Regions from separate parts of the Homo sapiens genome. Here all the other regions are linked to region 1. The links are contacts of gene promoters, found by promoter capture Hi-C in blood cells and fetal thymus (Javierre and others, 2016). All regions are on one chromosome and are shown on one strand. The core of a region is centred on a gene start or on the middle of the fragment in contact, and the rest is flanking DNA. Distances in the headings are between cores, read along the strand shown. Region 1 holds the start of GPR37 (G protein-coupled receptor 37). Region 2 has its middle 97 kb from the start of TMEM229A. Region 3 overlaps LOC124901741 (a long non-coding RNA gene). Region 4 has its middle 35 kb from the start of TMEM229A. Region 5 holds the start of SPAM1 (sperm adhesion molecule 1). Region 6 has its middle 81 kb from the start of TMEM229A. Region 7 has its middle 34 kb from the start of HYAL4.

Evidence for each region. The method cuts DNA at HindIII sites, captures the fragments that hold promoters and counts their contacts. A CHiCAGO score of 5 or more calls a contact.
Region 2: a fragment that was not itself captured here is called in contact with the fragment with the promoter of GPR37 in region 1 in 2 of 17 cell types (endothelial precursors and M2 macrophages); the score reaches 6.2 in endothelial precursors.
Region 3: a contact is called between a fragment that was not itself captured here and the fragment with the promoter of GPR37 in region 1, in 2 of 17 cell types (endothelial precursors and M2 macrophages). The highest score is 6.4, in endothelial precursors.
Region 4: a fragment that was not itself captured here is called in contact with the fragment with the promoter of GPR37 in region 1 in 1 of 17 cell types (endothelial precursors); the score reaches 6.0 in endothelial precursors.
Region 5: a contact is called between the fragment with the promoter of SPAM1 here and the fragment with the promoter of GPR37 in region 1, in 1 of 17 cell types (erythroblasts). The highest score is 6.6, in erythroblasts.
Region 6: a contact is called between a fragment that was not itself captured here and the fragment with the promoter of GPR37 in region 1, in 1 of 17 cell types (endothelial precursors). The highest score is 5.7, in endothelial precursors.
Region 7: a contact is called between a fragment that was not itself captured here and the fragment with the promoter of GPR37 in region 1, in 1 of 17 cell types (M1 macrophages). The highest score is 5.7, in M1 macrophages.

Annotation. Positions count from the first base shown.
Region 1 is chr7:124,764,435-124,767,939 of GRCh38, forward strand. GPR37 (G protein-coupled receptor 37) reads right to left here and starts at 1,358. Exons shown (of 2, transcript NM_005302.5): 1 at 1-1,358. The coding sequence starts at 542. RefSeq lists a silencer at 1,370-1,499. The HindIII fragment of the contact is 5,609 bases long and covers 1-3,505 here.
Region 2 is chr7:124,128,469-124,132,097 of GRCh38, forward strand. No RefSeq gene overlaps it. Among named protein-coding and RNA genes, the nearest start is that of TMEM229A, 97 kb to the left of the region's middle. The HindIII fragment of the contact is 2,581 bases long and covers 600-3,180 here.
Region 3 is chr7:124,084,216-124,087,983 of GRCh38, forward strand. The region is part of intron 1 of LOC124901741 (a long non-coding RNA gene); the gene reads left to right. Among named protein-coding and RNA genes, the nearest start is that of TMEM229A, 53 kb to the left of the region's middle. The HindIII fragment of the contact is 3,771 bases long and covers 171-3,768 here.
Region 4 is chr7:124,066,459-124,070,287 of GRCh38, forward strand. No RefSeq gene overlaps it. Among named protein-coding and RNA genes, the nearest start is that of TMEM229A, 35 kb to the left of the region's middle. The HindIII fragment of the contact is 3,517 bases long and covers 233-3,749 here.
Region 5 is chr7:123,923,412-123,926,783 of GRCh38, forward strand. SPAM1 (sperm adhesion molecule 1) reads left to right here and starts at 1,830. Exons shown (of 5, transcript NM_153189.3): 1 at 1,830-1,941. The HindIII fragment of the contact is 1,344 bases long and covers 609-1,952 here.
Region 6 is chr7:124,112,665-124,116,125 of GRCh38, forward strand. No RefSeq gene overlaps it. Among named protein-coding and RNA genes, the nearest start is that of TMEM229A, 81 kb to the left of the region's middle. The HindIII fragment of the contact is 3,920 bases long and covers 1-3,461 here.
Region 7 is chr7:123,809,695-123,813,500 of GRCh38, forward strand. It overlaps a transcript of HYAL4 not described here. Among named protein-coding and RNA genes, the nearest start is that of HYAL4, 34 kb to the right of the region's middle. The HindIII fragment of the contact is 210 bases long and covers 1,233-1,442 here.

The DNA of each region.
Region 1 (3,505 bases), core at 108-2,607:
TAAAAAAGATCGCTGGCTCCGGGGACTGTCTTCACACTCTGCTCCTGGCTACGCCCGGAAATGCCAGCGCCTCTGGGACCCTTCTCTTCCTCCTCTGAGATCTGAAGGAAGAGCTGGAGGGCCGTGGGGTTCCCTCTCCCCAAAGTTTCAGAAGGCTCCTGACCCCGAGCACCTTTCCACCTCCAGGGGCCAGGTGGCCTGGTTGGAGGTCCCGGGGGTCCGGCTGCCGACGCCTCCGCCCCTCTGCCTGCAGCCGGGTCACGGCCCGGGGCCGCCGGCAGGTCCCAGGAGGGTCCCGCAAGAAACGCTGCCCCCTGCTCCTCCCTGGGTGCTCGGGCTCGCAGAACGTCTCTTGCAGAATTTCCCGGTCCCCAGGCGTCCCTGCCGCGGCGCTGGATCACTGTAGGTGCACAGCTCTCCCCCAGACAAGTTTCGTTTCTGGACGCAGGGGCGACCCCGAGGGCAGAAGAGGCAGACACCTTGAGCAGTAGCAGAAGCAGTAGCCGCGACATGCGGGCGAGAAGCGCGCCCGGGGCTCGCATGGCTTGGTGAGGGCACACCCGGCAGCCGCAGCTCCTGCTTAGTTAGGATCGACACCTGCTGCCGAAGTTGCTGCTGAGAGTTAGGCACATGTCACATACTCACCCCCGCCCGGGTAGCGGGGAACCGGAGATTAGGGTGATAGCGGAAGATCGGTCTTGGGGGTCACACACACGCCCCCTATAATCCTTCCTCCTTTGGCATCTTGTGCATTTCTCAGCCAAGTTGAGTCCCAGCAAGGTATGCCCTCCAAGGTTCCTAGAGGGAATAGGCTACTCCCGGTGGCTGACCTTGAAAAGTTGCAATCAACACCTGACTGTTGATTACTGTTGAGACTCGGGGGAGCCCAGACGAAGCCCCACACTCCTCACTGCCTTTGGGTGGGGGTGGTGGCCTTCTTGGTAACAGTTGCTCTGCCTATTTACATCCTTTCGACAGCGTTTGATCCAGTTGCAAGCCGAGGTCTCTAGAGGAAAAGAAAAACAAGTCCCCCTCCCCCAGACGACTCGCAGTCACAACCCCGCTCCCAGCTCGCTGGAAACACGTTGCAAACAGTCCGAAGCAGCGCTGATGCGCCGGCGAAACTCTTGCCCCACCTAACCCCAGCGACTTGCGAGCCTACTGCTGCCGAGGAGAAGCGGGATTCCAACCCCGCGGCCACTGCCAAAGTTGCTTCTCCTCCAGCTCAAAGTTGACGACGGGGCGAAGCAGGCTGCTGGACGGCGTGCCGCCGCAGAGAAGGAAATCGTGGGGAGAAGGGGGAGAAGAGGGCGCCGCTCGTCGGTGGACAGTGCCGCTAGCCGCGGGAGCTAGTCACTGCCACAGCGGGCTCAGCCCGGACGGGAAGGGTGGTGCCTGGAACCGCCGCGGGCCAGGCAGTGCGCGGCCGGGAAGGGGAGGTGGCCCGGCCTCGCCCCCGCGCTCCAGCCGCTGCGCGCGCCCGCGAAGCTCGACTCTCGGCTCGTTGCCTCCTCCCACTCCTTCGCCTCCTCCTCGGAGAGATACTGGTTTGTGGGGAGACGGGATCCCCTGGTGGTTCACCACTCACTAAACCCACACACGTTTCATTCAAGCCATTTGTAGCGGCTTCCACTCGGAGGAGCTGGGAGGGAACAAGGGCGGAGGCGCGGAGCCTGCGCGGCTCGAGGCTAGGGATGGGCGGGACAGGTTAATTCCCCAGCTGTCGAAACCAGCCTGACAGGTCCCCGAGCCCGGGCTAGGGGCGGGTGCGGGGCGGGAGTGGGGGGTGGGGGTGGGAACGGGAATATGAGAGCGGTCGGGGGAGGGAAGAGAGGAGGGTAGCAGGGGAGTGAGCAGCAGGGTCCCCTCCAATCTGTTGCGGCTGATGCGCATGCCCAGGTCTCAGCTCTGGGGGGCGAGGGGCGGGGCGGGGGAGGGGCGGACGGGGGTTGGGCCGCGGGGAGTAAGAAGGTGAAACCTCACCTCCTCAGGTATTCCCTAGAGATAGGAGAGAATGGGAGCTCAGAGGTGTCAGTCATAGAGAATTACCAGTTCCAGGATTGAGATGCAGAGCGAGAAAGCTCAGGATGCACCATTACCTTTAACACTGAGTTGGGAAGCATCCTACCATGGGTTACTTCGTACCACCCAGAGCATAGTGAGGTAGTTGTATTTGATGAAGTAGTGGGAAATGACTGGAGGCAGAAAATTACTCGAACAGCACTCCCAGCACGGCTGTCCATGCCTTTCCAACCTTTCTACTATATCCCACAACCCTGTCAAAACTGTCAGGGCATAGCTAATAAAATAGACAAATTAATGAAGAGAAAATGATAGAGGAAGAAATAAACACATTCTGAATTTTTTTTTTAAACAGAGTCTTGCTGTGTCGCCCAGGCTGGAGTGCAGTGGTGCGATCTCGACTCACTGCAACCTCCGCCTCCCCGGGTTCAAGCGATTCTCCTGCCTCAGCCTCCCAAGTAGCTGAGACTACAGGCACCCGCCACCATGCCCGGCTAATTTTTTTTGTATTTTTAGCAGAGACGGGGTTTCACTATGTTGGCCAGGCTGGTCTTGAGCTCCTGACCTCGTGATCCGCCCGCCTCGGCCTCCCAAAGCGCTGGCATTACAGGCGTGAGCCATCACACCCGGCCTGAATTTTTTTAAAGCAACACATCTAGAGAGGCAGGAGAAAACACAATGGAACATATGATACCAATTGTGGTAAATAGAATAATGCCCCCCCAAAAAAATGTCCGAATCCTAATTCCTAATACCTGTGAGTATGTTACCTTACAGAGCAAAAGGGATTTTGCCAATGCAATTCAGCTAAGACTCTTGAGATGGGGAGAGTATCGTGATTATCCAGGTGGGTACACTATAATCACAAGAGCCCTTACAAATGAGAGGCAGGAGGGTCAGAGTAAAAACAAACACAAGCCAAGTGATGTGGGCAATCTCTGGAAGCTAGAATGGGCATAAAAAAGGATCTACTAGCCCATTTGAGACTTCTGACCTCCATAACTGTAAGATAATGAATGTGTGTTGTTTTAAGCCACAAAATTTATGGTTATTTGTTGCAGTAGCAATAGTAAACTAATACACCATTAAATCTAAAAATGGAGACAACAGGAATAATTGTATAGAAAAACATAAACTACCAAAAATAGTTCAAGAAGAAAATTTTCAGAAACTGTAATCGAACTATAACATTAAAGAAATCAAATCATTCATCAAGATCTACCCAGAGGAAAGTGCTAGACCTTAGCATATCCTGCGGAATAAATATACATTTATACAAAATGTTTTAAAGCTACTCAGTTCATTTTGTGAAGGCAGAATAACCTTAATGTCAAAATCAGACAAAGCCAGAAATAGGAAAAAATATAAGCTAATAGCACACATTCATTTGTACATTAATTCATTCATTTATATACACTAACTCATTCTCTCAAATTCACTACTTCATTAAAGAAATATTCTGCTCAAGTTACTTAGGTCAGAG
Region 2 (3,629 bases), core at 640-3,139, 640 kb before region 1:
ATTTGATGTGATATACTGATTTTTTTACTCAGGTTTTTAGTTTCCCACAACTCAAAGAAAAATAGACTTAAACTTTTTAGAGATTCAAATGTGAATGACTAAGAGGAGAAAATTGTGATGGTTGGGGAATGAGCAAGTGAGGTAGAATTTTTTCTCCTATATTTCCACCTACTTTCAATTTTGTTCTGTCTCGGTTGTGAGCAGAGATCTAAGAAATAAAGAGATGGCACAAAAATGATGGAAATCTTGTAACTTGGACTCAGTATTAACAAACTGTGTGACTTGTACCTTTTGTCTTTGTTTTCTCCATTTTAAAAATTATGGAACTGCATGAAATGCTCTCTAGTATCCTTCATGGCTTGACTAGCCTATGATTCTACTATTCATCAGGTAAGTTAGTACCCTGAAAATGAATAGACTCACAAAACAATAAGGGAAAAGGTTGAAGTTCCCATATAACACTGTGAAATACCTGCCTAGACTATGAAGCCAAACTGAAAAACAGTTCAAAAATTGTACCTTAAGATTTTAAGAAAAGGAAGGGAAAGGGAGTGTGTACTTCATGCAAAGCTTCAGTTGCAAAATATTTTAAATCTTCAAGCTTGGTATGCACTGCTTACTAAATTATAATTGCCTACAAAAAGAAATTTGAGATGAGCAAACTAAATATTTGTATTTATAATACTGAATAATAACACAAGCACAAAAACATTTTAGTATTCTAGAAGTCAGGATCCAATAACTGAAGATGAGAAATTCTTGGGTCTTGTAGGCAAGCAAATTATTTTAGCCTAACTTCTCCTGTTTCAAGAGCAAGTCCCTGAAGATGTAGAGAAAAATAAATTATTTCAATCTTTTTTACTTGGAATCCCCCCCTCCCCTCCTCCCCACACACAAATACGAGGTCAGAATTGCCATACATTTCTAAACTGGTGAAATTCCAATTAATGCTCTGTTTTATTTTTCACTAGGCAGGTTCTAAATGATAAATGTTTATGAGCTTAGGCCTAATATTTGAAAAAATCTGCTATAATAAGCAGTCCAATATGTGCCAGAAACTTATAAGGAAAAATAATGAAGTCAATGAAGTGAAAAAGAAAAATGAATTAGTAGAAAATAGGGGATACATAATGCATCAAAACATTCCCATATAGAAATGCATCATATATTACCTTGTCATATTTAAGCAGTTGTAAATATTTTTAAGGAGATCTCCCCTAGAATTTGCATAGGAACTTATATTCTCTATAACAAGAAAAGCAACTGAGCACAAGAGATGTAATTTTATGTTTATCTCTATCTTTGTCCTTACTTAAAACAAATCACAGTCAAAAGAGAGGTAGCAGAGTAAAACCTCCTAAAATGCAGAAGGTCTAAAGTTGGAAGCTAGGGAAAATAGCAGGAAAGGATACTGCAAAAATATAATTAAAAAAATAAACGTAAGACTTTGTACTGTTAAGAATTCAAAGGAATTTCTGGTAAGCAAGATTGAGAGCTTGTTACTACTGGAGTGGCGTTTGATATTTTGGTGACTTTCAATTCAATGTCACATGGTACAACAATGGCATCAGCAGCTGATGTGTTTGGTCCTCTGGCTGTTGGTAATCTATACTTCTTTTCTCAGGAAAAAAGCACTTGTAAGGTTAATAATCTAATTTAATGTAATATAAGGGAAAGGTTAATAATGTCCAATATCTTCTGAAGATAGTTTGGCTTGTCAAACAGTTATGTGGACATTAAAAGAGAAGGTTAATGCGCACTGTTCCAGTTTCATTCTGAAGAAGCAAGAGCCAACTCTGGGTTAGACAGGGGAACTTTACAAGGATTCTCTCATTTATTCCTGTCAACAATGGTATGATGTAGACTTTATCATTATTCCCATTTTATGGATAAGAAAATTAAAACTTGGTGAGGTTAAATAGCTTATCTGATGCAAATGCTATAGTTGGGTCTGAACCCAGTGAAATTATTCCAGATTCCCAACATACTATCCTGTGTCAGATGCTGTGAAAAAACAAACAAACAAACAACAACAACAACAAACCCGCACTGGACATTTGTTAAAAATGGCAGAGAAGACTTTAAGACTATTGCATCAAAACTTAAGACTATTGCAATAGGGGAGAAAGATTGAACTCAGCTCTGAATACAATACGGACATGCAAGGATTTATACCCAATGGGTAGAGTGAGAGAGTGAATGGAAAATTACTAATAGGAGCTTGGTTTAATATAAAGGGTGGACGAGGAGAGGAACTTAATTAGGCATCAAGGTGGAGGAAAGAGCTTGCCTGAAATATCAATGGTAGGGGAGATAATTGACAAACTATTTTATCAGGATTCTTTGCTGAAGCTGAGCTCAGCAGGTGAAGGAAGGGGAACAGGGATGAGGCCTGGTGAAAAAAAAAACAGTTAAATGAACTTGTCTTGGTCAAGGAGAGAGTTTCTGTCAAAGTTAGAGTTCAGAATGGGAAAAACACAAATATATAATTGTGAGGTTATTTTGTATGATAATAGGCTTTAGAAAACTCTGGGTCCTCATTTCCCCAGTGGTCCTTCTTGTCCTGATAAATTACTCATACTCGCAGGAAACCCTGACATATCAGTACTCATTTTGACATGCGAGAGGGACGTAAGGAAAAATAATGTGAAAATGTTCTATTTTTTTCATTGCATAGTTTAATATTTCTTTCATTTAGGTACAACCTAATTCTCTGGATTTTGTGTCTCTTTCACACTTTCCACTCTCCTCCCCATGTAACTCAATCTGTTTTGTTTTTAGGCTGTTTTCAAAATAGAGAAAAAAGAAAATTTACTCTTGTTTTTTTTAAACGTAGAGTTACATTTTCAACTTTATTTTTAAATCATAATTAGGTTCTTAAAATGTTTAGTTATCCTACTTTCTTAAAATGCAAGTGCTATAGCAAAAGATAAATATATTCAACTATTTTAGGATATATACAACCTTAAGTTATCTGTGAAAGCCAGATGAGTTCTGGAGACATTGGTATGCAAGATCATGCCCCTGAGACTATTTGTTTTCCAAAGCTCCTTCATAGCATCCAGTCCTCAAACAACAAACATTCTTTTGCTATTGAAACTGGTTCAGAACAGAACAGAAAGAACAAGGCTTGCTGGTTGAAGCATTGGAGGTAAGCCGACCATTTGCTTCACAAAGCAAAGCTTCACCCTACCTCTTCAAGGCGCTTTCATCTGAAAACTGGATTTGGAACCAAGTAGAAACAAGCTCTCTCCAGTGGGATTCATCACTTCCTGATTTCAGATGGGCACAAACAATAGACTCTTGTATTTTCCTGCTATTCACGTTTTTAGTCAGGTCTGAAACTGAAGGTGTGCTTAAATAATGATGGCTTATACACATTTCTTTTTCTCCAACCTGGGATTCAGAGTCATACTTTCCCAGATAAAGGTGATACTGTTTTTCAGGTCAGTTCACTCAAAGATGGTGCAAAATAATATGAGGAAAAAGTCCTTCATAATGAGACAGATAATTGGAAGCATACAGTCTCTGCTGATCCTTTCAATGCCCTGTAATTTTTTTTTCTTGATTTTTAAAAGATGTGGATTTCTTTTCTGAGGGCAGGGTATAGGGAGGAGAGCTCTTTGGTT
Region 3 (3,768 bases), core at 806-3,305, 680 kb before region 1:
ATGCTATCTATAACCTTTTATGCTGGCCAGCCTGGAGCTCTTCCTGTTAAAACTCATGTACTTTAAAGTTCCACACTCATCTGGTATTTCTCAGCCTCAGTAATTAGGTCAGTGTTTAAATATAGAGCCACACATTATTTAAAATGTTGAGAAGCTTTGGAGCAATGTCAAGCTTCATCTCCATAAAGTGTTCTTACTAGTTTTTATTAACACTGTTTGGATATTATCATTTTAAATTTTCTCAGTGCTTGTATATTCAATTTGTACAATATATATGTCTGCTCATATGTTATCTCGGAGTCTTGGAGCTATTTTTTCTTTATTTCCAGGTATGTTTCTTTGACCATTTTAGCTGATCATTTTTCTGAAGAATTTCGAGTCCTTCCAACTAGATTAATGAATGTGGGTAATGTACTTAGCTTTTCTAAATTTTTTTTTTTTTAATTTTTGAGACAGAATCTCACTCTGCCACTTAGGCTGGACTGCAGTGGTGCAATCTCGGCTCAATGCAACCTCTGCCTCCTGGGTTCAAGCAATTCTCGTGCCTCAGCCCCCTGAGTAGCTGGAATTGGAGGCATGCACCACCACATCTGGCTAATTTTTTCTTTTTTTTTGTATTTTTAGTAGAGACGGGGTTTTGCCATGTTGGCCAGGCTGGTCTCAAACTCCTGACCTCAAGTGATCTGTCCGCCTTGTCCTCCCAAAGTGCTGCGATTACAGACATGAGCCACTGTGCCCAGCCCTAAATTCTTAATGTCCTCATCTCTGCAATGGGAATACTCCCATTACCTGCCTCACAGAATTGTCCTGAGGATTGTATGTTCTCAGCATATTTCTTGGCACATGGCAGGAATCAAGCACATATTGACCTTCCAAACTCCTTCATTTCTTTTCTTTCTTGCCTTTCTCTCTCACAGCACCTATAGCTGAATCGCCTTTGGTAGATGCATCTTTCTACCCAATTCTCATTGAGTGAATCGATGTTACAATGGGCAGATTAAAGTGGAGACTTGTTTTGCATGGTAACATTGAAAACTGTGTATGTGACTTGGGAGGAATTGTTGTTCATGGGTCAGCTGACTAGTTATATTATGCAGTCTTTCAGATAACACAATGAATTATTAATCCACATTAGAGAGTTGAAGGCTGGAGCCCTGGATTCCTGCCCAGAGAACGACTCTGACACATTATAGGCATATGGTTGCCTGGCTGGAACAATGACTTTTTGTACACGTGCCAAAGGAAACTTTACGATGCCTGTTGACATTCTGTCCTTTCTTTGTTTCTCCATTATTGGATGACTTTGCTGCTCTATTCTTTTTTTTTTTTTTCCTTTTCTGTTTGGATACATTTTATCCTAACTTATGCCCAATAAAACATTACTGAGAACATGAACAAGATAAAGGAGCTAGTATGTCTTGTTAGTTAGTTTCATTATGTGTTGAAGCTAAAGCCTTCAAAGGACTGTGTATGATTAGGGCTTCACAACTATTTATTTAAAGCCTTATTTTGTCTCTGTTCATGTTTATAGAATATGAAATACTCAGTAAGGCAGACTTAGTACATATATGAAGTCTGTGTAATCTCAGGGCTTCAGGAAGACTCTACCTGTTCTCCCATACAACAAATTCTGCCACTCAGCTGCTGCAGGACTGCCTTCCACATATACATGGTTTGAATTTCCTAATTCTGAAATTCTCAGTGGGTTGTATCAATGATAAGTATTTGTATCTTTAGTGCTGCCTGAGTTCAAGACATGATGATATAGTTTGGCTATGTCCCCACCCAAATCTCCATGTGAATTGTTTCTCCCAGAATTCCCACATGTTGTGGGAGGGAGAAGATGGGGGGTGGGGCAGTAATTGAATCATGGGGTCCAGTCCTTCCCCTGCTGTTCTCGTGATAGTGAATAAGTCTCACGAGATCTGATGGGTTTATCAGGGGTTTCCGCTTTTGCTTCTTCCTCATGCTTTTAATCTTGGTGCCATCATGTAAGAAGTGCCTTTCACCTCTCACCATGATTCTGAGGCCTCCCCAGAGATGTGGAACTGTAAGTCCAATTAAACCTCTCTTTCTTCTCAGTCTCAAGTATGTCTTTATCAGCAGCATGAAAATGGACTAATACACATGATTAGTGATCTAATTTTAGGATCAAAGGTTAGAAAGCTGCATTAATCTTCTCAAATATGCCTATATATTAATATGTTTGTTAAAATCGATGATACTTTTTCAGAAAATATTTTCTATTAAGTAAAGTAGGCAACAGGATTTAAGTTATAAGAGTATACCTATTGACCATTAAAGTGAATTCAGGTATTTTCAGACTAAATGAAAAAATAAAAGGACCTTGTAAATGTTTTTTTTTGTTTTTTTTTTCCCGAAATAATCCCATATGCTGTTTGCTAGCCATGGAGTTAAAATGATAACAGGTTGGGTATTACTCTAGGAAAGCCACAGTAGAACCACATACAGATGGGACAGTTGATTTAGGTTCCTTCCTGAGCACATTAGCTTGATAAATGGATCAGATTTGTGAGCTACCACTTTAGACGAATAGAGGATCAGGTAAAAGGGAGCTTCAGTGGGGAAGGAGTGATCCTAGGAAGGAGGATCATAGCAGAGAAGGGTTTAGGTGGTAAGGACCTGGGAGGGGTAACTGGAAGGTAGCAGAAATGAACGAGACTGATTTTACTTAGTCACAGTTATACGAAGGGCATGGACCCCTGCAACAGAGAAGTCCCAGCTGCTAGAAATTGGCAGTTGGTGGTATACTAGCATAGCAGGAAGGAAACTTATCTGGGAGGCAGGAATTATGGTTTGATCTGGGCTCTGCATTAATCAATTTGTGGTTTTGAATAATCTATGATTTCAGATAAGCCCTCATTTCATCAGTTATGAAATAATGGAGTCATACCATTTAAACCATCTGTTGTACCAGTAACATTATGATTCTAAGATTAGCTAATTCTTGTACTATCTTCCCTGTGTGTAATGGGAACATTTCTCAAGTCCCTAGGTAGAGCTGAGAAAAATATACATTGTTGTCTTCTGAAAATTATCAAATTTACTTTCAACTTCTGACTTTGTGTTTTCAAGTTAACTAGTACTTCTATGCCTATTTGCTTCTCTACTTTTTCATTGATGAGAAATGATTTGACAGCATTACACATCGTTTATAATTATTTTCAGAAACACACTAAAAATCTTTCAAACTGACATGTTCAATAATTTAAAAATGTCTAGCCAATATGTTTTTAAAAAGCCTGTTAACTCATTTTTACTGTGTATTACTTTATACTCAAAAAAATATAACTCCTGTTTTCACTAAAAGTATTGATAGAAAACAAGTGGCACAATATTATACAGGATATCTCAACATAATATCTTTAATATGTTTTTTCTTTCTTATGGTTATTAAATTGGTTGTACTTTCTGTTAGTTTGGTTTTTACCAACATTAAGAATTCATATGCAGTCATGTGTTACTTACTGACAGGGATATATTCTGAGAAACGTGTCCTTCGGTGATTTAGTCATAGTGTGAACATCATAGAGTGCACTTAGACTCAGATGGTGTAGCCTACTACATACCTAAGCTATATGGTGTAGCCTATTATGCTTAGACTAAAAATCTGTGTAGCATGTTACTGTACTGAGTACCATAGGCAACTGTAACACAATGGTAGGTACTTATGTCTCTAAACATATCTAAATATAGAAAAGGGACAGTAAAAATATGGCATAAGTGATAAAATAATGGTACACCTCT
Region 4 (3,829 bases), core at 741-3,240, 700 kb before region 1:
TATGCATTTAGTGAACACTTCTATGTGCTAGAGACTGCTAGACAGAAATCATAGACAAAGAATAGTTTACTCTCACTGAGCTTACAGTAAACCTCAGTCAGATGCGACATTTTCATGTACCTAGGGTTTTCTTGGTGCATGAATCTGACTGAGTGCCTGGCATTCATTCAGATGATATTTGAGTAGTCACTGTTAAGTATGCCTGTTGAGTTGGCGTTTCATACTCTTATGAAGCTTATATTCTATCAATCAATACATATCTATTGGATAAATGAATGATGGGTGAGTAAAGGTATGAGTTAATATGGATGCAAAATGAAGGTATATTTAATGCAGACTGAATGGTCTAGGGAAGGTTTCCTGGTGAAGCTGAATTTTGAAGGGCTGGTAGTAACCAGTGTTCAAGAGGTAGGATTGGATGAAGATGGAGCAGCTTGGAAAAATTTACAGAAGCCCCCACTTGCCCCCCACACAGAAGTGTAATAAATTTGAGGAATTACAGATTTGTTGGGAAAGAGAAGGATTAGAGGAAGCTGGTGATGTAATCATAAATGAGATCATGAAGAGATCAAGATGCCATTGTTTATCTGGAAAACAATGGCAGTCACTGAAAGACTTTAAAAATGTCAACAATAACTTTGGATATGTACTTAAAATTTTAATATTTTATTATTAGATTAAAACATACAATGAATTTACAATGCACTTTTTTCTAAAGTACTTTTAACTCCTTTAGCTCTTTCTTAGGTAGTTATTACTGCATCTTCAAATGAAATGTTTATAATTTTGAATTTAAGTTTGGATATTATCCATTTACTTCCTGTAGTAAAAGCTGGTGATTTGTAGTTTTAGAGCAGTCTTGTCATCCTTCACTTACCCTCTCAACATAGTTATATAATTTTTTCATTTAAATTACCAAACAGCCCTTCAATGACTGTAGAGAAGTAACTAACTTCCCATGGTTGGACACTTCCCATGGTGAGGAGCAAAGCCAGGACTGCCAGTGTTTTGGCATGGTGTGTGTTTTGCATACACATCCTTCCAACTTATCCCCATGATTTTCAGTCCATGTTTCACTCTTACCTTCCACCATACCTGACAATTCCTTTTCTGAGCTCTTAGGGGTCCTGGAAAGGCAAATTGATTTCTTTCTTATCCAGAAAACACTGGCTTGTCTTCTTTCCTGTAATCCATGTTGGCATGAGTTCATTCTTTAAAAAGTAAGTCACTTGCTTTCAATTTTCTGCACTATTAAGAGAGAGGATATGACCATGTAGTTTTCAATTTACATCTTTAAGCACGATGCCAGGCATATTTCAGGAAACTCATTCTAAAAACACTGTGGAAAGTAGGTTCAAAGGAGATAAGAGTGAAGACTGTTACAGTATTCTAATTGATAACTGATTAGAGCCTGAACTAAGATTATGCCATGAGGGATGGGGTGAAGAAAAAGGGAGGGATCAAAGAACTGCTAATGAGGTAGAAGCCATGGTCTATGTCCTGTTCTGATTTTGTGGTGTGAGAGAGGGGTCAAACATAATTCTGCAGTTCCTTTCCTCAGCATTACAAATGATGATCTTACTCAACAAGGCAGAAATACAGTAGAAGAAGTGAAGCAATTTTTAAAATATTACTTTGGGAGAGATGAGTTAACTTTTGGACATATTGAGTTTGATATTTCTATTGGCTGTCCATATGGACATATTGGTGGAAAGTTAGAGTTTGTAGCCAGAGAGGATAGTATTAAAAATCTGCAGTTTTGGAGTGAAAGAGTTCTGTGGTCAATACAATTCAGAAAATAGAAAATTAAAATCTCTAGATTTTAGGAGATTAAGAAACTGTGAGTCTAGGACTTTCAGCTGTTGGATGAGTCATACAAATGGACATGAAAGTTGTACAACATGATGTTGGAATATTGTGAGTTACTGGTGCCAGAACCATCCAAGTTAAGTCTTGACCAATGGCAGTATATGGCAGAGAATAGGAGCTGGATAACTTGCCTCAAAGAGGAGAGATTTGTTTGCTTTTATTAGAGGAGCGTAGAAAGGAAATTATTCAAAACTGGCATGCTAGGAGAATGCCACCTCTTGTCTAGTAGATAATCTATTTTGTCTTTCTTTGGAGATCTGAACTTCATGTGGTCTTGGAGGAATAGTCCATTTTGGTGTGTAGTTCCTCATGTCAGTGGAATATTTATCATATGCTAGGCTGGGCCAATAGTACAATATGCCCCATAGGTTGTGATTGGACTGAAGAATAGTTTTGTAACCCAAGCTATTTCAACTAGAATCCTTTTGCATTGTAGATGCACTCCTCAAGAGGAGGATAAAGATGATGTGATTCTGATGTTAGCAGCAGCCATATTGCCCATTGCCTAGAAGACTGCAAAAGAATCTTGAGAAAATTAATTCAAGCAGAAACAAGTGTAGGTGATAGCTGAAATTTAGAGGCATATTTATATTTGTTTGTGCCTTTGAGAATATTCCTCTTTCTTCTCTCCAGTTGTGTAAGTCCATAAATAACTTTTAAACTTTTTTTCTTAAGCTAGATTTGAATTTGGATCTCTATTGTCAACCAAAGACTGTTAACTAATATACCTCTTTCTGCACCCCACCATCATGAACTTGGGTCATGTGAATTATGAGATAAAAAATAGCCTCCATTAGAAGACTGTAGAGAGAGGGAGATCCTCCAAAGAAAGTCAAATTTTAGTTAAGACAAGAAGCTATAAAGAGCTTGTTTACAATAAAACAGGGTTTTAGAGGCCAGGATTGAAAGTGATGGAAGAGTGGGGAGTGTGAGAAGCAGGGTGACAGCAAAGGAAACACTGAATAGAGAAGAGCTTAAGAATAGGAAGTCATTTTGAAATGATTAAAGGGTTGTCACTATACATTTTATACCTTATAAGTAAGGTATAAAATAACAGTCATTTTTACAACTATATACATAATAAAATTTAGTTCAGATGTTATCAAAAATACCTACTTATGTGAGGTATCTAAAGTAGTCAAATTCATAGAAACAGAAAGTAGAATGATGGTTACCAGGGGCTTGGAGGAGGGAAAAATGGGGAGTTGTTTAATGAGCATAAAATTTCAGTTTTGCAAGATGAGAAAGTTTTGGAGATCTGTTGTTCAACAATGTGAATATTCTTAACACAACTGAAATGTATACCTTAAAATGGTTAAGATGGTAAATTTTGTGTTATGTGTTATTTTAACCTAAATTTAAAAAATTAGTTCAACTAATATAATTTGCATAACACCATGAAGAGTTAAAATGTGGGAATGTATCTAGAATACCAATGAAATGAAGGTACATTTTCAGAACAGGCACAATGTTACTGAATATCCCGGTGTAGATGCGGTTTCTGCCTCAGGAAGGTAAAATCTAAATTGGAGATGGTGACTGATCAAAGGTCAGGAAGGAGTCTGAAGAGAAAATATCACACTTAATAACTACCTTATGCTTTAGTAGAATGATATACAACAGAGAATTTGGGCTCACTTTGGAATTGCAATGAAGGGGAAAGAAAGGAACGATTGAATGGAATAAAAATAAACCAAGCAGCTCCTGTGTGGAGAATGATTACATCTTTAGTGTAATTTTCTCTGTAATGGAGGGGCCTTTAGCAAAACCCAGGAGGAAATTTTAGAGGTGATATGCTGGATGTGAAGGAGTCTGACTGCTAATCTTGCCAAGGGTCTCAGAATGTGTGTATTTTTTGCTGGTATATATTTTTTGAAATAAGCTTCAAGAAATTTCTAGATTGAGCTGGATCCACTCCCAGAAATCAATCTTCCTATTTTACAAATAGAGTTTTACAGAT
Region 5 (3,372 bases), core at 580-3,079, 840 kb before region 1:
GATAACGTTTGTCCCAACTGATTCACAAAGAGGCAGCATTTTCATCAACCACACAAGATAGAATGACCAGTGTTGTTCATGAACAAAAAGTGGAACCTGTAATTCCCAAGATCTAGTGTGTTCCACAACTTTTGTTATTGGTCATATTGATGTCTCCACACCTTCATTTTCACGTGCCTCTGTCAGTTTGTAGAAGCAGAAAATGTTGTGAAACATTTGACATAGGAGAACTGCAATCTGGCTTTGGCAGCTAAAAGGCTTGATTTTGTCACCTGACCAAGTTAATCCAGATTTTTGATCTATTTATATACAATTTCTGGTGCTAAGGAGCCTAATCAGGAGAGCAGCCGAGCTATCCCACCCAGGTTGTGCAAGAGTGGCCTATGAACCAGCCAACACATTTGGTGATTTGGCAAAAGTTTGTGCTATAAAAGGTAGTTCTAGAATCACTTATTGTCACCGGATAGAAAGTCCTGACTGTGAGTTTTCCAGGTTCTTGGAGTGTTGAACAAAGAATTGAACAAAACGCACAAACAAAGCAACAAAAGAACGAAGCAACAAAAGCACAGATTTATTGAAGTGAAAGTAGCCTCCACAGAGTAGGAGCAAGCTTGAGCAAGTGGCTCAAGAGCCTGACTGCAATGTTCTTCAGGGTTTTAAATTAAACTAAAAGAATTTGGTTAACACCCCTAGGTACCCTTTAGAGACCTCCAATTGGTTACACCCTACGCAAATGAAGGATTGACCTGTGACCAATCAGACACTGAAGTGGAGGCTTGGTTTGAGACCAATCAGAGGCTGAAGTGGAGGCTTGGCCTGTGACCAATCAGAAGCTGAAGTGGAGGTTGGCCTGCAACCAATCAGAGGCTGAAGTGGAGGCTTGGGCCACAACCAGTCAGAGGCATTTCTCGTTCGTGAGGTAGGGGAGGAGGGTTTTGTAGAGGTCAGGAACTCTGGTCCCTTTTCACCTGGGCATGGAGAGGTGGGGTTTTCCTTTTGGTCCAATTCCAAGAAGTCAGCCAATTTGTCCTCAGGCTCCCTGTCTCCCAACCCTATTCTCCTGCCTCATTATGACCTCCATGATGGGTTTGAGGATGTGGTGTATGGAGTCAAACTACAGGGTTTGATTGCAATATTGTCTTGGATTGTTACTTGGGAAGAGATCAGTACCATATTTGTTTTTAATTGGAAAAGTCTTTTTCTTCCAATGTCTTTATTTGAGCAAGGGACAATTCTTGAGCTTACATAGAGGTTTTTCCTTGCCCAGTGAACTCACCAGAAGGAAAAGTAGAGTGACATTGTTTTTCTGACCATGGATACCATACTCTTTCATTCATTTATCTTCCATAGTTGGTCCACCTGGTACCCCATGGACAGGAATAAAAACTAATTCAGGTTTGTTCATGCTATCAGATGTTGACATAAGCAATAATTATATTGTTTAGCTGACATGACCAAGGTTTGGGAAACTGGTGCAAGGGTGGTGTCAGGTTTGTGTTTAACCTATGAAGAAAAGAGTGAGGTTAATATGAAAGAGGCAGCATTTGAAAGAAAGCCCACAGTGGAGGATCAGAGAGAGAATAGGATAGATTGAGACAAGTAATCTCCAGTCAGCTTCTCAATAAATGGGAGGTTTTGTTGAAAAAGATCCCCCCTCTACTCCCCTCCCCACACCAGGGAGGAAAGAAACTTAAAGGGGGAAAATAGATGAAAGCAAAGTTTTTTATCTGTGATCTTGAGGAAAGCTGTTTGCTTTGTGGTGTCATCTTGCTTCTAGAGCCTTGGCTCTGAAATCCTTACTATGAGGTCACCTGTAGGGATGGTCTTCCAGTTGTCCTGAGAGTGATGACTGGCTCCACCTTGATGTGGCTCACATAAATTCAGAAAGTATGATAGCAGTGTAGGTGGTTAGCAGCACCTCATAAGGTCCTTCCTAGCAAGGTAACAGTACAAGCTTTTTCTAAAAATCTTGATGTATACCTGATCTCCTGGTTGAAAGAGTTGGCTTGATGGATTTTTTCCTATAAGTTCTTTTTATGTCTAGATTTTTATGTTCCACTTGACCTGATGATTGAGGATGGTATGAAGTAAGAAGTTTTAATGAGTAATCCAGAGATTTTGTGAGTGAGTGGTTTATTTCTACTAAAAAATGAGTTCCTTGGTCTGATTCAATCTATAAAGAAATGCCAAAATGAGGAATAACCTCAGTCGTTAATTTCTTTACCACTATCATGGTGTTGCATGAACCTGGCAGATGGCGGTTTTAGTGAGCCGAGATCATGCCACTACACTCCATCCTGGGTGACAGAGTGAGACTCTGTCACAAAAAAAAAAAAAAAGGCATTACAATGGAGGGATTGGTTAATAAGACCTGTGTATAGGTGGTCTGCTACTGTGTTGCGAGGTGCTGTGTCTTATTAAGTCATAAGAGAATGGACACAGAATGGGAGAATGGGGAACGTGGAGGTAAAGGAGGGAACCTAATGTAAGAATACTGAATTTGCCAATTAAGGCACCAGCTGTGACTACTTCATACAGGAATGGGGACATGCCTGATGCCATAGGGTCTAATTGACTTGAGAATGTGAAAGGAAAATAAAAACTCAGAACCCCAATTCATCATGCCAAAAGGAAAAAAAAATTAAGCTGAAATGTGAGTTGTGCAAGAAACTGCCTTTTCTCTTGTTCCTAAGCAGATAGCTAGAGATAAAATGTTAACTCCACAGGTAGTTACTCTGTGTTCACCTTATCTTATGTAAAGTGCAGATTTACTGAGCACTGGATGAATACATAATTGACTATTCCCCTACCTACTTCTTTTCCCTTGCAACATGTGGATTATCATACCCTCCTTCTTTCCCCGCCGGCCTGCTTTTCCCCTTTAAATACCGAGGCCCTCAAATTCATTTTTAGAAAAAGGCACGGACCACAGACTGTTTCTGTGACTCCATGTTTATTTGTTCTGGGCTTATCCTTAACTTTGGCAAAATAAACTTCTAAATTGATTGAGACCTGTCTCTGATACTTTTTGGTTTACCAGAAATATAGTATAGGACATACCTGTTGATGAAAAGAGTCAAACTCTGTAAAATATTTGAAGAGAATTATTCTGAGCCAAATATGAGTGATTATGGCCCCGTGACACAGCCCTTAGGAGGTCCTGAGAACATGTGTCCAAGGTGGTCGGGGTACAGTTTGGTTTTATGTGTTTTAGGAAGGCATGAGACATTAGTCAAATACGTTTAAGAAATACATTGGTTTGGTTTAGAAAGGCGGGACAACTCAGAGTGGGGGCTTCTAGCTTATAGATAAGTTTAAAGATTTTCTGGCTGACAATTGGTTGAGGTTGTCTGAAGACCTGGGATCGATAGA
Region 6 (3,461 bases), core at 290-2,789, 650 kb before region 1:
CAGAAGCTCTTTAAAAACTAAGGAATTGCAAGGCAGGAGGTATAAGGCTCAAAATTCCAAGTTTAAAATTCTCCCAGCTGGATTTTTTGAGGTAAAAAGTGTCATTGCTGTCATAATACAATGTCAGCCCAAGCCTATCTTCAGGATCTTAACCCTGCCTTTGTGCTTTAGGAGGGTTGTACCATGACCTTCATTTCAGAACCGATGAACTGCTCTAGGGAATCTTTATCCCGTTTAATGTTGTCTCTAGATCACCAAATCCATATCCCTGAGACACCTAAGGGCTGATGAAGGAGCCATAAGATATGAACCAGATTAAAAACTCATACATTCTGGTACCAGAAACTACAGTTGAGATATTCATAGTGTAAAAGAAAAATAGCACTGATGCTTTTCAAAAATGGCAAGATGATTTTATTTAAGACTATTGAAAAAGGGGTCAAAACTATTGCAATAGAGAAAAAGTCTGCTAAAAAAAAAAGACAGGAGACTTTTAAGCACTGGAGTGTAGTGAGAAAGCACTGGAGGACATAGGAGGAAGTTGGTCATGTGATTAGGTCATTTATGTTTGTCAGTCGGTGCTTATTGAAGTTAAGCTCCTACCACCTCCCACAGAGTCTGGGGGATAGGAGTGCTAATTTTTTTCCTTTAATTATTACCTTTCTGGGAGAAGATTTACATCTTAAAGATACAGAGAAAAAATTTACAATGGTAAGTTTCCTAAAGTAAATTTTCTAGGGAAAAGGAGGTCAGAAACAAACCTGTCTAAAATTAAGACAAGCTGAGGGGATTGTTAAAGCTCTTTTCATCAACAACATAGGAGAGTCTCTAACGAACCATGAAAGCATCCAGGAGAGAATAAATTTTAAATCCTTGCCAGGCACAGAGAGTGAGAAGACAGTACCAAGTACTAGTCAATTAAGAACTTCCTACCCCCTTTCTTCTCCCTCTCTTTACCTAAACACTCAGGTTTCAAAAATTTAAGAAGAGAGAGGAAAAGGGAAAAGAAAAGGAGGAAGAAGAAAGAAGAAATGTTCTATACTGCCTTCCTGACTACAGTTTTCTACAGACTCCAGCTGTGGAAAAAAAGGAAAAGGCTTAATGTTTAATCAAGGTGGCGATCATATGGAACTGAACATTTTTAAATAGTTGATGGGAGTTTTGCGTTTTGTCAGAATGAACAGGAAAATCAAGGGACCTCTGGAGAGTTTCTGTCCAGAGGCAGAGTGATCAATAGTATAGTGGGAGACTAAATAAATGTTCTTTATTAATTAATTCATCACATTAGTTAGAGTGTAATTATAGAATTATAAACTCAGTGTACATGTGGGTAAATAAAAACAAATATTGACTGAGACAGTGTCCATTTTGAGGAGTTTCAGATAGAACTACAATACTGGACAATGAAAGCACGTCAGATAGAAGGAGGATAATTGTGTTCAAGAGTACCTATGTCTTTGTTTCTTCAGGAACAGGACAGAAATGTTGATAGAAAAAAGCAAGCATTTTAAACAAAACACCAGAAACACAAATTGTTAGTAAAAAGATTGATAAACACAATTACTTAAAAAATTTGAAATTCAGTCCTCAAAAGTCACCATGAAAAATGAGAAAAGACAAGCAATAGAGTAGAAAAGATATTTGTAATACAAATATCAATAAAGTATTGAACTTAGAATATATAAAGAACTTCTACAACTCAAATAACAAAGGAATAAATGATTTAATAGAGAAAAGGGGCAAAAACAGACACAAAAATATGTGATCTCATATATGAAATCCAAAAAAGTTAAGCTCATAGAAACAGAGAATAGAATGGTGGTTACCAGAGGATGGGGTATGGGGTGGGGACGGTGGGGAGATGTTTGTCAAATGATACAAAATTTTAGTTAGAAAAAATACGTTGAGGTCTATTGTACAACATGTTGACTATAGTTAAGAACAATGTATTATATTCTTGAAAATTGCAAAGAGTAAATTTTAAGTGTTCTTACCACAAAAAAGGATGAGGATGTGAAATAATGCATATGGTTACATGCTGTAATTAACATTCTTACTATTAGTGAAATTAGCATAAATACTTTAAGAAATAATTTGGTAAAATTTAATAAAATTATACATGTGCTTATCTATATCAGGTTTTATTACAATCACGCTCTTAAACAAGCAATCCTGTAACAACAGATGCAGTCAGTAGTCTGTCCACATAGCCTCTTGGATTTTCTTACCATTTCTGTGCCTCCCAGCTGTACACCTGACTTCTGACAACCACCACATGCATCTTTGTTAGAGAGTTGCCCTTATGCTTCCAAAACCCACTTTATCCAAATCCACCGTGAGCCAGAAGTGTTTAGGAATTAATATCTATCCACAGGCTCCTGTTACCCAATAATTTGACAACTATGAGATTAAACATACCTTATGTCTATCTTCCCTTGACTGGGAAAATTCTGATGTATGTGTTTTCTATTCTTTCTCAAGAGCTTCACTATGGGGTAAGCTGTAGTTATGTACAGTGAAAACTGGTTAAATAATGTATCGGTTCCTGTACAATTTGCATCCCCTTAATTTTCTTCTTTTGTCTGATTGCTCTGGCTAGGACTTCTAGTACTATGCTGAATAAAAGTGGTGAAAGTGGAATTATCCTTGTTTGTAGATAATATGACATTATCGTTAGAAAAACCTAAAGACTCCAAAAAAAAACCCACTATTAGAAATGATAAATTCAGTGAAGTTGAAGAGAAACCAAGAAAATAATCCCATTTACTAGAAATAAAATAAAATACCTAGGAATAAATTTAACAAAAGAAGTGAAAACTCTCTATAATGAAAACTATAAAACATTAATAAAAGGAATTGAAGAGGACACCCAAAAATGGAAAGAAATTCCATGTTCACAGATTAAAATAATTAATATTGTTAAAATGTCTGTAATCCCCAATCTACAGATTCAATGCATTCCCTATGAAAATGGCATTTTTTAAGAAATAGGAAAAGTAATTCTAAAATTTTTATGTAACCACAAAAGACCCAGAATAGCCAAAGTAATCCTGAGCAAAAAGAACCCAGCTTGAGAGATCACATTACCTGACTTTAAATTATATTACAAAGCTATAGTAACCAAACCAGCATGGTACTGGCATTAAAAACAGACACACACAGACCAAGAGAACAAGACAACCCAGAAAAAAACCACATATTTACAGTGAACTCATTTTTGACAAAGGTACCAAGAGCATACACTGGGGAAAGAACAGTCTCTTCAATAAATGATGGTGGAAAAACTGGATATTCATATGAAGAAGAATGAAACTGGACCCCTATCTCTCACAATTAATAAAAATAAAAAAATGAATTAAAGACTTAAATCTAAAATCTACTAGAAAAAAAACACTGGGGAAATGCTCACATTGATCTGGGCAAAAAATTCTTGAATAAGACCACAAAAGAACAGACCACCA
Region 7 (3,806 bases), core at 88-2,587, 950 kb before region 1:
AGCATTTGCAACATTCTTTCTTGCATTAAGTACATTCATATCATTGTAGCCATCACCACCATCCATCTCTAGGACCTTTTCTTCTGCATCTCTCTTACCTGCTAGTTGTGTTCTCTCTCACCTGTCACATCCCACTGGACAGGGAGGGAGCAAGTGTCCCTTCCATTAACAATTTATTGAACAGCCCCAGTTGATTGAAGCATATGCCATCAGATCAAACTGAAGAGCAGACTAAACCCCTCAAAGTTATAGTCACCTACAGATCCTTAGTCTCAACAACCAGATTTTAGCACTTCAGTCACTAATTAGGTTTATAAAATTAAATTCAAAGTTTAGTAAAAGTTAACTCTTTTTTCGTTCTTCTGGATTAAATCTGATGGAAGAAAATCTGCCAGGAGAAAAGACAAGGAGTGTTTCACTTCTTCTCTATCCCTTGCCAAGTGCTTTTCCCCAAATACTAGGTTGCTTCTGGTTCCTGCATGGTTGAAGTGTGGGTATCAGTGGCTGCAAGAGAAGCAGCAAATGTTTACTTGACAGGTGTCAATCTGAAATTGGCTCTTTAAAGCTGACTTTCTTCTTGTGAGGGGTTTCATGGCAAAATGAATGAAAAAGTTGAAAGACAACAAGAAACTGGAAAAAAAAAACCCGTGTTACTTCATACTATAATATTTGGTGTAATTACCATAATATAGTTCACAATATATTTAAGAAACTCCTTGTTGGTCACATAGATGTTGTTTCTAGGATTTTCTATTACAAACATAGTAGCAGTGAATGCAATTGCATCTATAACTTTCTTCATTCAAGTAGACTTTACTTTTCAGAGCACTTTTAGGTTCCTAGCAAAATTGAGCAGAAAGTAGAGAGACTTGTTGTATACTCCCTTCTCCCTGACATCACAACCTTCCCTGCTATTGACATGTCCCACCAGAGTGGTACATTTATTATAACTGATGAACCTACATGGACATGTTCTTATTATCCAATGCCTATAGTTTACATTAGGGTTCACTCTTCGTGTTGTGCATTCTATGGCTTTTGACAAATGTATAACGGCATGTATCCACCATTAAAGTATTACACAGAATAGTTCCACTGCTCTCCAAATCCACTGTGTTCCACCTATTCATCTGTCCCTCTCCCCAACCCTTGGCAACCACTAAATTTTTTTATTGTCTCCATATTTTTTCTTTTCCAGAATGTCATGTATAGTTGGAATTGTACAATTTGTAAGCTTTACAGATAGTTTATTTCACTTAGTAAGATGCTTACTTAATTCTCTTAGTAATATTAAGTTTACTCCACATCATTTCAGTGCTTGATGGCTCATTTCTTCTTAGCACTGAATAATATTCCATTATCTGGATGTACCACAGTTCATTTATCTACTCACCTACTGAAGGACATTTTGGTTGCTTACAGATTTTGGCAATTATGAATAAAGCTTCTATAAACATTCTTGTGCAGATTTTTGTGTGGGTGTAAGTTTCCAAGTTGGTTGGGTAAATGCCAAGGAGCATAATGATTGGATTGTATGGTAAGAGTATATGTAATTTTGTGAGAAATTGCCAAACTGTCTTGCAAAATAGCTGTAGCATTTTGCATTCCAATTGGCAATGTATGAGAGTTTCCTGTTGCTACACATCCTCACCAACATTTGGAGTTGGAATTGTTCTGGATTTGGGCCATTCATTAATAGGCATGTAGTGGTGTCTCATTGCTGTTTTAATTTGCAATTCTCTAAGGACATATAATGTTGAGCATCTTTTCATATCTGTATATCTTCTTTGATGAGATGTCTGTTCAAGCCTTTTGCTCATTTTTAAATCTGTTGTTCATTTTCTTGTTGTTGAAATTTAAGAGATTTTGTATATTTTAGATAACACTTCTTTGTTAGATATGTCTTTTGCAAATATTTTCTCTTAGTCTGTGGCTTGTCTTCTCATTTTCTTAACAGTGTCTTTCACAGATGAGATGTTTTTAATGAAATCCAGTTTGTCAACTATTTCTTTCATGGATTGTGCCTTTAGTATTGTATCTAAAAAGTCATCTGCTTGTCTAAGGTAATCTAAATTTTCTCCTATATTATTTTCTAGGAGTTTTATAGTTTTATATTTTACATCTAAGTATTTATACCTTTTTTGTTGTTGTTGTTGTTGTTGTCGGAGAGGGAGTCTCACTCTGTCACCCAGGCTGGAGTGCGGTGGCACAATCTCAGCTCACTGCAACCTCCATCTACCAGGTTCAAGTGATTCTCCTGCCTCAGCCTCCTGAGTAGCTGTGATTACAGGTGCACACCACCACACGTGGCTAATTTTTGTATTTTTAGTAGAGATGGGGTTTCACCATGTTGGCCAGGCTGGTCTCAAACTCCTGACCTCGTGATCTGCCTGCCTCGGCCTCCCAAAGTGCTGGGAATACAGGTGTGAGCCACTGCGTCTGGCTGGTATCTATACCTTTTTACAATGTGTGGAATTATGTTGCTTTCCCCACTGCTTCACTAGACCTGGCTACTTGCCTGAAACATATCAGATTTGTTGAACAAAAATTCAAGTGTATGTGTGTATATATGTATGCATGTATTAGTATATATATTTTATAAGTGGAAAAATGTAGATCTAGTTTTATATTTTGAATAATAAAAATAGCTAGAAAAAATAAAATCTCAGCAGCATGTAGAAAGAATTCATTATATTTAAAAATGCATACCATTATAATGCATATTTTTGTTACTGTAGTAGAAGTCTGTTATAAAATGTAGACTAGGGACCAAAATAATGCCAAAATAATTTTTCCATAGGCTAGCTAGAAAAATAGATGATTGTGTATCATTTATATACATGGAAAACATAATGAAAATCTCCTAGAAGAGGAAATTTGTAACAGTATTTTACTAAAGTACAATATTTTGTATTTTTAGGCCCTTTGGCTCTAAAAAATTTATTGTGATATGACATTTTAAAAAGGTGTTTTTTGTTCCCAAGGGTGTCAGTTTATTAGGCATATATATACGCAATGTGCAGTCATGACCAGAGGGAGGTAAAGAATAATATTTATGGAGAGTAGATATTCTTTCATTTTCCCTGAACAACAAATAAAGAATGAAGAAGATTTGCCTTTATATTTTTGTGGGGGAGTGGGAGTCAAATTAAGATCCCATGATTAGAGAAGAGTGATGGGAGAAAAACCATCTCTGATAGCTTAGAGATTCATCTGGTGCTATAATACACACTCCACATGAAGGCAATTGTCTCAATAATATCCAATTTATTTAAAAGAGTAAATTATCGTTCACATTTGTTAATTTAAAAATTCAGTGTACAGAGAGCATACGACTTGAACTCAAGTTTCTTTACAAACTTGGGGTGCTATGTTGTGAGAGTTAGCGTACAATTTTGGTTGGTGTCTTTCCTGAATTTAGTACGTTAAATAAAGACACCAAGAACTACATGAGAAACAATGTATGATTCTTAAAAAGAAACTGAGTTTAATTATATCAGAGAAAAATCTGTTTAAAATAAATTCCTTTATTTAAAAAAATCCATACGATAAGATAATTTTGATATGTAACTGAAACCATATTGCTTTCAGGATGAGATCTTGTTGGCTGGAATGCATCAACTATTAGATAGTCCTTATATTCTGGGAAGATTCTTTGGCAGTTTTCGTCCCAACAGACTAGTTAAAGGGGCCTAAAGAGACAAGTTTTATTTAGGGTTTAACTGCTGAATATACAATCCAGTTTCTTTATAGGAAAACCACTGGAGTTAAAGAACTAATAGGATTTTAGGCTTGTTTATATGCCT